Linked DNA regions of Homo sapiens: regions 2, 3 and 4 are each linked to region 1. Evidence: promoter capture Hi-C in 16 types of primary human blood cells and fetal thymus (Javierre and others, 2016). All regions are on one chromosome and are shown on one strand. Each heading gives the region's core, a stretch centred on a gene start or on the middle of the fragment in contact. The rest is flanking DNA. Distances are from core to core; before and after follow the strand shown. Region 1 holds the start of MAST4-AS1 (MAST4 antisense RNA 1). Region 2 holds the start of PIK3R1 (phosphoinositide-3-kinase regulatory subunit 1). Region 3 overlaps LINC02219 (long intergenic non-protein coding RNA 2219). Region 4 holds the start of ERBIN (erbb2 interacting protein).

The links. Contacts are between HindIII fragments. The CHiCAGO score rates a contact against its expected background, and 5 or more counts as called.
Region 2: a contact is called between the fragment with the promoter of PIK3R1 here and the fragment with the promoter of MAST4-AS1 in region 1, in 8 of 17 cell types (naive CD4 T cells, fetal thymus, non-activated CD4 T cells and 5 more). The highest score is 13.3, in naive CD4 T cells.
Region 3: a contact is called between a fragment that was not itself captured here and the fragment with the promoter of MAST4-AS1 in region 1, in 1 of 17 cell types (total B cells). The highest score is 5.9, in total B cells.
Region 4: a contact is called between the fragment with the promoter of ERBIN here and the fragment with the promoter of MAST4-AS1 in region 1, in 3 of 17 cell types (total CD4 T cells, fetal thymus and non-activated CD4 T cells). The highest score is 7.0, in total CD4 T cells.

What each region holds. Positions count from the first base shown.
Region 1 is chr5:67,002,731-67,005,499 of GRCh38, reverse strand. It overlaps MAST4-AS1 (MAST4 antisense RNA 1), which reads left to right and starts at 1,346. Exons shown (of 2, transcript NR_111908.1): 1 at 1,346-1,656. All of the region lies in intron 4 of MAST4 (microtubule associated serine/threonine kinase family member 4), which reads right to left. RefSeq lists a silencer at 1,129-1,468. The HindIII fragment of the contact is 7,419 bases long and covers 1-2,769 here.
Region 2 is chr5:68,214,404-68,217,172 of GRCh38, reverse strand. PIK3R1 (phosphoinositide-3-kinase regulatory subunit 1) reads right to left here and starts at 1,417. Exons shown (of 16, transcript NM_181523.3): 1 at 1,224-1,417. RefSeq lists silencers at 701-1,800, 2,021-2,240. The HindIII fragment of the contact is 2,835 bases long and covers 582-2,769 here.
Region 3 is chr5:68,196,502-68,199,270 of GRCh38, reverse strand. It overlaps LINC02219 (long intergenic non-protein coding RNA 2219), which reads right to left. Exons shown (of 3, transcript NR_105003.1): 3 at 864-1,081. Among named protein-coding and RNA genes, the nearest start is that of LINC02219, 8.0 kb to the right of the region's middle. The HindIII fragment of the contact is 1,030 bases long and covers 903-1,932 here.
Region 4 is chr5:65,925,166-65,927,934 of GRCh38, reverse strand. ERBIN (erbb2 interacting protein) reads right to left here and starts at 1,360. Exons shown (of 26, transcript NM_001253697.2): 1 at 1,129-1,360. RefSeq lists enhancers at 1,207-1,426, 1,387-2,011, 2,636-2,769 and a silencer at 1,507-2,596. The HindIII fragment of the contact is 7,086 bases long and covers 1-2,769 here.

The DNA.
Region 1 (2,769 bases), core at 97-2,596:
AAGGTCAAATATTTAATAGAGAGGAACATCTGAAGGGCTCAACGAAAAGTACCAGAAGCCTCAATGACTGGGTGAATGAAATGGATAAACATGATCAGGTCAAAGGGACAGACTTAGACAAAGTATCTCCTCCTCTTTCCCTTTTTCTCCCCCACCTCTCACAAGGAAATGTCTTATTATCCACATTTCAAAAGGAGAAAACCTATGAGAAGCACATTTATCAGGGTTACCCAGGAAACCACAAGGACGAAGAAATACCTGAAACAGTACCCCCTCCCCTAGCGGGGCATAAACTTTTCAAAGTGTCACCCAATACACAAAACCCCAGCTCCTGAGGGGCTCAGGCAGCTCCGCCTGTGGGCCCCTGGGAAGTGAAAGCATTCCCTCTCCAGGCAGAGATCCCCGCGTTTTTACCTTTGTGTTCGCCGAAGCCTGTTCCCACTCCTCAAATGAGGCAAAGTAAAGTTTGAGAGCACAGTCCAAAAATTGGGGTCAGACATATCCATTTCTTTCTCTCTTCAATTCACTGTGGGTTCAAGGCCATATGACTAAAATGGGGAGAGGTAAAAAAAAGGAAGAAAGACAAGGCCAAAAATAAAAAAAAAATCCCAATTATCTACTCACTCCCTCCAGAGAAAATGTGATGGGAACTGTGATCTCAAGAACAACTTGGAGCATGTCTGAGAAGTACCCGTCCCGTCCTAGCCTTTAATTAACACACAGCCTCCTCTCAAAGGTCCGGGAAACTGATTTCCTCTCGGGTCTGCCCTCTCCTAGTCAGGCTCGGCCAGCTATAAACAGTAATTACATGAGTTGAGCCGTGCGTTCTGCTCAAAGCGCTGTCTGTGGGATTCAGTCGGAGGTACTTTGTCATCTGTTTGGCAGATACCACTCGCCGCTTCTGCGAGGGGCGGGGGAGACGACTATTTTGAGGCTTTGGTTCCGGAGGCTGTTGCTTATCAGCAAAACCATTCACATCCGAACATGCCCAGTGCCGAGTTTCCTTTTGGTATCTACATACAAGGAAAAGAATTTGAATAGAAAAAGCTGCTCTTGCCCTCCCCTCCTGAAAAAAGCGGAAACTTAAAAGCACTTTTAAAAAATGGGCCTATTGGAGGACTTGAACCTGACACCTTTGTGGACCCTTCCAGGGTCCGGCTGGGAGGAGGCGGCAGGGCCTTGTCCCTGGACAGCTTGGTGGCCGCGCCCCCAGCTTTCCTGCATCCCCCACCCCCCACCAGCCCCGGCCGCGCCTGAGGAGCGGGGGCTCACGGGAAAGGGAGCAGGCGGCCGCGGCGCGACCCCAGCCGGTGCCGGGACAGCCCCGCAGCCTGGGCCGCCGCTCCCCCTCCCCGGAGCCCGGAATGGATCCGTCCCGGAAATAAATAAATAAACCCGCGGCTGCTCCGGGTGTGTGCTGCGCGCACCTGAGGCCGACCTGTGATTCACCGCGGGAGGGATGGCAGTGACAACGCTCCGGGGAAGTCCACAGTGACTCCTCCGCCAGGACGCCGCTGGTTGTATAGGAAAAGCACGCGGACGGGAAGCCACACTCACCGAAAACCTCAGTAAACTAAATTTATGAGTTTACATCTGTTCCATCAATGACCACGGTGCACACCTGTTTGGCTTCATGGCCGGCAACTACAGATCTAGGTAATGGTGAGCCCCGATGTGGAAAGACACTACCTGGCATTTATGTGGCAAATGCTACAAGTATTGCCCCTTCAAGTACGTTAGACCTTGAAAGGGCAGAATGAAGGGGGCTGAATGTTCTTGTTATTCATTTTGAAGAAAGGCATGGTATTTAAATATCTCCCCCTATCCATGAATGTTTGTATAAAGTACATAAAGAAAAAATATAATTTAAATTAGCTGCCTTAAGTCTGGTGTAATATGGCAAGAAATACTAAATCAAAAAAGTATATATTCAGCAAAAAATACATCTAAAAATGGCTTAGTCCATGCAGTAAATACCAGGAACAAACTCGCTTACAAAAATGGGAGGATAAAGAGAAGGAAGAGGGGGTGTAAGCTGACAAGGTAGGCGGGGTAAACAAAAAGAAGCCTGCTGTGGGATCTTCTTTATCTAATTCTTGTGGCCCACATTAATATTTTCACACCAAGGACTCCAAGAGTTTTGGATGATGTTTCATGTCCAAGGCTTTCGTATGCGTTATCTCCTCACATTCTTACAGAGCCTCCACAGATCCTTGCAACCCACAGAGGTAGACAAAGAAGGCATTATTTTCTCAATTTTACATTTGGGACTTTATCCCAAACATTCAGGGACACTAAATGACAAAACACACTTCAATAGATATTAATGAGCTTGGTCCAGCATTTTTGCCCCATGCTCTTCTTTTAAAAAATGTTTCTAAGTATTGCAAAAGATGTTTTGAAGGCTGACACAAAAGAGTGTCCCTGTGCTCCGGAGCAGTTTCTAGACCTCAGCACTGTTGACATAGGCTGGATAATTCTTTGTCTGAGGAGCTTTCTTGAGCATTGGAGGATGTTTAGCAACATTGCTGACCTCGACCTACTAGATGCCAGTGCTGACAATTAAAAATGTCTGAGGACATTGCCAAATGTCCCTTGGGAGGTAAAATCACCCCTGGTTGGGAACCACTGCTCCAGATAAAGGCTTCTCTGAGAGGGGTGATACAGAGCACTGGTTTAGAGCAAAAATTTTGGGTCTGAATTCTGGATACAACACTTACTATGACCTTAAATCTCTTCTCATTTTCCCCAGCTGCAATATGGGGTCCA
Region 2 (2,769 bases), core at 168-2,667, 1.2 Mb before region 1:
ATGTTGCATTCAAAACCCGGAACTGCTTTATCCATTGGTACTTCGCACTGGCTGACAAAGAGGAAAAGAAGAGAAAAAAGAAAAAAAACCTAAAATCATGAAGCCCCCAAATAAAGAGCAGACTCACACTCGGACACCAACAGCGCTGCAGCTCAAGGGATTAACGGTGGAAGTGAGACCTTTCCGATATTAATAGCGCCCCGGGAAACAGAAGAATTCCCCCAAACCCAGTTGACACACATTCTGCATTCAACACGTAACAGCCATTCTGCATATATCCTTGCATTTCAGGCTCCAATTCTGGTTATCAAAGTGTATTTCTGTACAGGAGTGCCTGGCCAGAGGTTTTCTGTTCTCTTTGTCTTGTGATCTGAGGGGCAGTTTCTGAGCTTAGGTTAGAGCTGTGGTTTCCAGAGAATTGCCCACGATATTTTAGCTCCGGGTTGCAGGCTCCCTGGCTCTCCCCAGCCGGCTCCATATTGCTGGGCAGGTCCCTCCCGCCTCGCCCCACGTTCCAAAAGCTGGATTTCCGGGCGGTTCCAAGACCCCACTAAATATGCCTCCAACAACCTGCCCAAGCTTGGCTGGCAATAAACGCTGAGTTAGGGCCCCAGCGACCAACCGCCCCGAGGCGCACTTCCCCCACCCCGGAAGAGGAGGGCGGCAAACTTCGGAAGGCGGGGGTTAGGGGACGAGCTCCGGGGACCACCGCCGCCTCGCCCGCCCCGGGAAGGGCCCGGGCAGCGACCCTGGCTGCAGCTGGAGGGCCACGGGGGAAGGGAGCGCTCCTTCCCGCAACACGAAGGCAGCGGCCAGGGCGCTCTCCTCCGGTGAGGGGCCCCGGAAAACTGCAGCAAGGCGACAGCGGGGACCCTCCGAAGTGTGCGGTGACGGAGGGTGGGAGGAAGCCCGAGCTCGTCGGCAACTCCGGGGGCAAATGCGACCGGCGGCGTGCAGGACCAGCTCGCAGGAGGACGGGGGAAACGGGAGTCAGGATGGCGGGGATCTCACAGGACGCCGGCCGCGCGCGGGGGTAGTGCTGCCCGGCGGCCAGGAGATGCCGGAGGCGGGGAGGGCCGGTGGCCAGCCCGCTTCCCCCCGGCGGGGCTCTGCAGAAGGAGAAGCCGCTGCCAGTGACAGGAAGAGAGTCGCGGCAGCCGTGCACACATGCACCGCCTCCCCCGCCCGAGCACACACACCCGGGGCTGCTGCTGCCTACCTACCCCGCCCGCCGGCTTCCTTCCTCTGCGGGGCCCGCGCTGCAGCGGTGGCCTCCTGCCCGCTCGGTTCCGACCGGCCTCCAGCCCGGCTGCGACCCGCCGGCCGTGCCCGATCCGTGCTTGCCGTCTCCGACAGCTAGCCTGCCGCCCTCGCCGCTGCCGCTGCTTCCTCCAACTCCGCTCCAGCTGCTGGCGACTCCTCTCCGTGCGCCCGCAGCTCCAGCGCCCGGCGCTAGCCCCGCCTCCGGCCCGGCCCCGCGCGCCCCGCCCCCGAGCCCACACCAACCAGAGCCCGCGGCTCCGCCCCTTTCCGTCCGCACGGCTCGGGCCTCCGAGCCGGCGGCTGGCAGTGGGGGAGCGAGCTCAGGCCTGGCGGACCCTTCCTGCCACCGCCCTCGCCTTCCGCCCCCCAGCCGCGGGGATGCCCCGGGCGGCCGTGCCGCGCGCTGCCTCCGCTGCGGAGTGCTCTGGCTCTACACGTCCCGGGCCCGCCCGGCTGCTGGGCGTCTCCCAGCGCAGAGGCGGAGGGGTTCGGGGAGGTCGAAGACAAGTTCAGACCTCCCTGGAGGCTGGCTGCGTCTCTAATCCGAGTGTCTTTCAGCCAACCCCAGGCTTTTTCGAGCCCCTAGCGCCCCAGCAGAGTGGCTGGGGTGGGGAGGACTCGGATTCCAGAGCTCGCCAAAGCGGAGAGGCCCTGCAATTCCTGGTCTCGCCAGCACTGCCTTCCGAGTGGGCGGAAAACCCGCGGCACCCGCCTGGCGCTCCGGGGGTGAAGGAGGGGTGAAAGGGTGAACCGGAGGGACGGGCGCCCGCAGCCTGCCGCTGGCTAACTCCGGCAGCCTGGCACCGCCGCCTCCGGGAGCCAGGCGGACCCGCGAGAAGGGAAGAGAGTTTTCTGAGGGCGTACGCTGGCTGATGGCTTCTAGTCCTGAGATGACAGAGCAAATGGAGGTCACTCAGGCAGACCACGGGCCCCTCGGCGTTCGCGGAGTCGGGGGCGGGGTTGGCGGGGGGTGGGGTTGGCGCGGGCGGGGGGGGCGGGGAAGCGCAGGTGAATTACATTGTCTCTTAAAGGTGTTAGTTTTGAAATGCATATTCTTCAAGTAATAATTACCTAAGTTGCTCCAGAAAAATTTGATGTTGGTTCAAACCTTCCACTGATGGTAAGATGGAATGCCAGCACCACGTGTGCCACTCTTTCATATTAAAACATGTGAGAATCTGCTTCCTAAAAGCTCTTTCCAGATTCTCCTTTCTGCAGCTTAAAGCCCTGCACCCGCCCACCCTGTTTGCCTAAAGCCCTTTTATAGTTCCCTCCCAGTTTCCTTGCAAGAAAACTCTTAAAAACAAACACACAAAACCTAAGCACTTGGCCTCTGTAAAACGTTGAATTTGGTGGTTTATTCTTGTGGACGTTGGAAGTAGAGGGAAGAACGTCCTAAAATTCATCGCTTATCCTTAAAAAATATCATTTTTAAAGGTGACTCACCTAACAGAAAAGTAAGCTCCACTTTAGGCTATTCAGACACTGGTGTTTCTATTATTCCAA
Region 3 (2,769 bases), core at 168-2,667, 1.2 Mb before region 1:
CATTTTGGCCACAGTTCAGTAACATATATGAATCAAAGTGGGATAGTTACAGCTTTTTCCCCAGCTCCGACTTCCTGGCTACAGTGGATTGGTCTGAAGAAGGACAGATAGTCTACTTGAGTTTCTACCCCAGGATTTTAGGTTTTGTACTGAAAGAGTTAAGATTGTTTCCCTCTGATGTCTGAGCTCTAGGGCTTAAACCTCAGGAGCTGTCACTTGTCATATTTTTGTTCATGTTAAGAAGAAAAGTGATGGGAGCTAGTTTCTGAGAACAGAGAAAGAAAAACAAAGCAGATGCACAAGAGAAGAAGAGCTGGGGAGAGGGAACTGTGAAGTCATGAGTTCGTGATTCTAGCTTTTCCTTAACTCTAGCCACAGATTTATTCTTATATTCCATAAGATACCTTTATATTCTTATAATAATGTTATTTTTGTTTAAACTCATTGGAGTGTGGTTTCTGTTACTTGGCATTAAATATCTTCAGAAATACATAATAGACCGGGTGCAGTGGCTCACGCCTGTAATCCCAGCACTTTGGGAGGCTGAGGTGGATGGATCACCTGAGGTCAGGCATTCAAGACCAGCCTGGCCAACATGGTGAAACCCTGTCTCCACTAAAAATACAAAAAATTAGCTGGGGGTGGTGGCGGGTGTTTGTAATTCCAGCTACTCGGCAGGCTGAGGCAGGAGAATTGCTTGAACCCAGGAGACGGAGGTTGCATTGAGCCGAGATAACACTACTGCACTCCAGCCCAGGTGACAGAGTAAGACTCTGTCTCCAAAAAAAAAAAAAAAAAAGGAAATACATAATATCAAAAATTTTAAAGAGAAGATGAAACAAATAGTTTTGCTAAGAAAGTAGTTATACTTTATGAGAAGTTTATTTTCTTATCAATAAGCTTCTTCAAGTTACAATCGAGGGCTGATTAAGTAGGCCAATGACACGGACTTAGCATGTTCAATAGTTCAAGATTGAGTGAGTTCAAAGGTATTTTTATTGTTGCTTTTGTGGTTATTGTTGCTGTTGTGTGTTTTAATGAATAATCCTTAGCAAGGACTGGTAAATGAAGTACGGGTGACCTACAGAAAAGAGAGGTAAAGAACATGCATGACAAAATGAAAGCAAACCTCACATGCCCAAATGAAAACGTACCCTCACTCTAAACATTTCTGATTCTAGTCCTCGTCCCTGTATCAACAAGTGGCACAATTATCCATCTTGTGTGAGCAGAACACTGATAGTCATTTGCTCTCTTTTTTCCCATTATAGAATCCATCATTTCATCATTCTGCCAGTCTCAGTGTTTTAACCAACTAAAAATCTTGTAAATATATGTATGTTTTTCATCTCCGTTGATGCTACCCTAATCCTCACCTGCACCATTTATCAATAGCAGTCACTGGCTAGACACAGTGGCTCATGTCTATAATCCCAGCACTTTGGGAGGCCGAGGCGGGTGGATAACCTGAGGTCAGGAGTTTGAGACCAGCCTGGCCAACATGGCGAAACCCCATCTCTACTAAAAATGTGAAAACTAGCTGGGCGTGGTGGCAGGCGCCTGTAATCCCAGCTACTTGGGAGGCTGAGGCAGGAGAATCACTTGAACCAAGGAGGCAGAGGTTGCAGTGAGCCGAGATTGTGAGATTGCACTCCAGACTGGATGACAAGAGGGAAACTCCATCTCAAAAAAATAAAAATAAAAAAATAGTTGTCACTGAATTGGTCTCCTTTTTGAACTCTCAATCACTAGCATTGATAACTCCATGGTTCTAGCCAGAGGATGCTTTTTGAAATGTAAATCTGGAAATGGCTTCCAACTCCCTCTAAAGATTCATAGCATACATATTATCTTCAAACATTTTAGTGACTTCTCATTGCTATAGGTCAATGATTCTCACCCTTGTTTTCATGATAAAATCACCTGAAAGCTTTAAAAAAAATACTTATGCCTGGTTCTCACTTCCAGAAGTTTGGATTTGATGGTTCTGGAATGGGATCCTTTAATCAGTATTTTAAAATGCTTTGTAGGTGGTTCTGACATGTAGCCGAAGTTGAAAATAACTGCTCTAGGCATACAGGCCAGAATCCTGATCACAGGCTTACACAATCTTGCCCCCGCTTACTTCTCTTCGCTCGTCACATATCACACCCCCATCCTCTGTTCTCCAGCCATGCTGGTCTTCTTTCGGTTCCTCAAAATCACCACACTCCTTCCTGCTGCTGACTGGGCTTCTGAGCATGTTCTTTCTGTGGAGAACATCCCTGCTTCTTCCGATCTCAGCTCTGCACCACTTCCTTAGGGAAGCCTTCCTTGATCTCTCTGACTAGGTAAATTCCAGGTCCTGGGGTCATCAAACTCTGCACCTTTTCCTTGTGGCATTTGTCACAGTATAGTTTTATATTTATATGTAACTCTTTGAATAATGTTTGTCTTCCCCACTAGAGTATAAACTCCGTGAGGGCAGGGACCATGTTGCCTTTACTCTCCACTGTTATCTCTGCTCTCTATTCTACATTGGGAATGAAGGAGACTCTCTATGTGTTGAGTGATCAAGTGAGCAGTTCGTGATGGGGAGGGTAATGATTACTGAGGGTATTACCGAGGGTAGCCCAGCTGGTTGAGGAATTAAAATTCAGCACCGGCCAGGCGTGGTAGCTCATGCCTGTAATCACAGCACTTTGGGAGGCCAAGGCGGGTGTATCACCTGAGGTCAGGAGTTCGGGACCAGCCTGGTAAACATGGAGAAACCCCCCTCTCTCCTAAAAA
Region 4 (2,769 bases), core at 111-2,610, 1.1 Mb after region 1:
CTCCCTGTACCGCAAAAATACCGGGAAAAAAAGTAAACAGAAAAAGACTAAAACACCACTGAAAAAAACTTTGGGTTTACTGCTATCAAAACTAGTCCCCATTGGTTCAGAAGTGTTCATAGCTCTGACTGGTGGAATGTCTGCCATGCTTCATGAATCCTGCCCCCACAGATGTAGGCAGAACCTATCACTATTTATGCAGAACCGACCAAAAACATTTGGGACAACACAAAAATGTAAAGACCATACTACTCGAAAAGCACAGCTTTTTATCACAATCACTGTGATTCCCTTGAAAATCGTTTTAAGCGTTTTACTTCCCCTCCCATCGTCTGTTCTGAACTGTACAGAAGTCCTATTAAACGTCTTACAGGTTGTTAATGTTGTTTAATTATCTCTCCCTATTCTTAGTCCTTACTCCTTTTTTCTTCGTAATGGATCAGTTACAAGAAAAGCCTAGTCGATCCTTGCTTTCAATTAATTAAACAAGTTATACGGCGCTAAACGTCTGAAAAACACACACTACACACAACTAAAGAAATATATTACTCACCCTGAAAAACAACTAAGAATGGCAAGATTTTTTGGTTTCTAAAATCTAACTAAATATACTGATCAGGGTTGGAAATAAAAAAATAAAAATAAATACCTCTATATACAATTAACGCAAGCGCCAATATAATCGGTATGAGTATAAACAAACGCGGCAGCCATCTCAATAACAGCAAATCACTCACTGCAGCGACCAAACTTTCTTCCCAAACAGAAGGTGCCTGGCTGAGCAACTTAATATACACTCTATACGTTCCAGAAAGCCAAAACTTCTGGCCCCTGTGCTGAACAAAGGCAATCGTTCTTCGGATTACTAAAAACTTTTCGTCCCACCGCATTCTTACAACCTCTTCCAAAAAATTCAAAGTCCAGATGGTGGGGGGGGCAGGGGGGAGAAGGGACGCGGTGGGGTGCAGTTCGATTATTTAGCCCCTCAATTATTAACCGCTTCGATATGAGAAAAGGAGGGTTTAGGGCAACTTGGAGAAGAGTGAAAAACACTAAAGAATCATCTCTTTTCCGAGTCACAAAGTCCCATGAACTTTGTGACTCAGAGACACTTTTCGTGAAAATTACCTTTCGGCGGGACACCGTCTCAGGGCAGCTTTTTCAAGGCTTCGCTTGACATGATTTCCTTCCCTTCATCAGTCACTTTGGATCCAGCTGAATATCTCTCTCGGGTGAGAGCGGATGTGGACTGGCCTCCCACAGAAGAAGAGTAGGTGGCTTTGGTGGGGGTTGGGGTGCGGGCTGGCTTCCTGGTCTCGAGTTTTGCAGGAGTTTCCCAGCCCCAACGAGGATCTCCGCCGAAAAAAAAAAAAACAAAACTTTTCACTCGTGACACCGCCCGGAATTGCAGTGCGAAACTCACTTCCTGCCTTGGCGAGAAGCAGGATCCAGCTCCGTCCAGGGGAACCCGGAAAACCAGCTCCGCGCGCACCGGAGAGGGGGAGGGGAGGGGACGGCCGCCGGGAGCCTCGGGTTCCGGGCAACCGGCGCGCCCGGCACACCGGACGGCAGCAGCACCCGGCCGGCGGGGGCGAGGACGCTGCCCGGGCGCTCGGCGAGCCTCGGCCGCGCTAGGCCGCCACCGCTTCCTCTCCGTTGCCCCCAGAGCCGGGCGGCAGGGTTATTGTCTCGATAGCGCTTGCCGCGCCCTTCGTCCGCGACGCCGCTGCCGCCGCCACCCGGAGCCGGAGCCGAGGAGTCGGGCAGGCTCAATAGCGGCCCCCTCCCCGGGCCGTCCGTCGGGCCGTCCGTCCTTCCGTCCGTCCCTCCCCGCTTTCCCTACTCGCCCTCGAACCCTCTTCTCCTCCCTCTCCCGTTTTCCCGCCACCGTCCCTCCGCTGCCCTGCTTGTTCTCCTTCGCCAGCGGCGGTGGCTCCCCGAGACGCGCAGGGGGCGGGAGCAGGAGGCAGCTCCGTCTCCTCACGAGCTTGCGGGGCCGCGGCAGGGGCCGAGACTGCGTCCCGCGCCGCCGCGCCACATTCACTCGAGCGAGAGACGGCGAGGGGAGGGAGGACGGAGGGAGCGGAGAGAAAGGAGGAGGAATGGGGCAGGGGCGGAGGGGAGTTACTGCCTCACAGGCCGCGGCGGCAACAGCGCCACCGCCCCGGCCGCGACGGGTGAAGAGGCTGCGCGCCGCGACTCTGCGGCGGGGGCGGGGGCGGGGCGGCCTCCCGCCGGCTTCGCCCCAACCGCCAACAGCCGGGCAGGAGGCCTGCGCGGGCCAGTCAGCGCGCGGGGGCGGTGCGGGCCGACGTCGGCGGCTGGGGGCAGCGGGCCGGGGGCCGGGGGAGGGGCAGCCGGCGGCCGTGGGTTCGCGTGCAAGGCGCGCCGTGAGGCCCACTCTGGCCCAGGCCCCTCGAGGCCTGCCCGCTGCTCCCTGCCCGCTCCCCGACCCCGCACTCCCGGACTCCCGAGCCCCCCAGGGTGGGGAACGCTGGCAACGCCGACCCTGCTGTCTGCTCGCGGCCCAGCGCCCAGCCAGAGAGATAGAGAGCCCACAGGCCTCCGCCGCGCCGGCCGATGGAGTTTCTTTGTACGACAGTAATCGGTGCACAGGGGTTGTTGGAGTCCAGCCCTGATTTGAAGGCAGCAGGTATCTCTTGCAGCTGCAGCACTCCAACTTCCTCTAATGGCACGGTCAGGTCGCAGGAAACCACAGCGGCAGCGCGGTGCAGCTTCCCACGCCCGCCCTTCGAGCTTGTTCCCCAG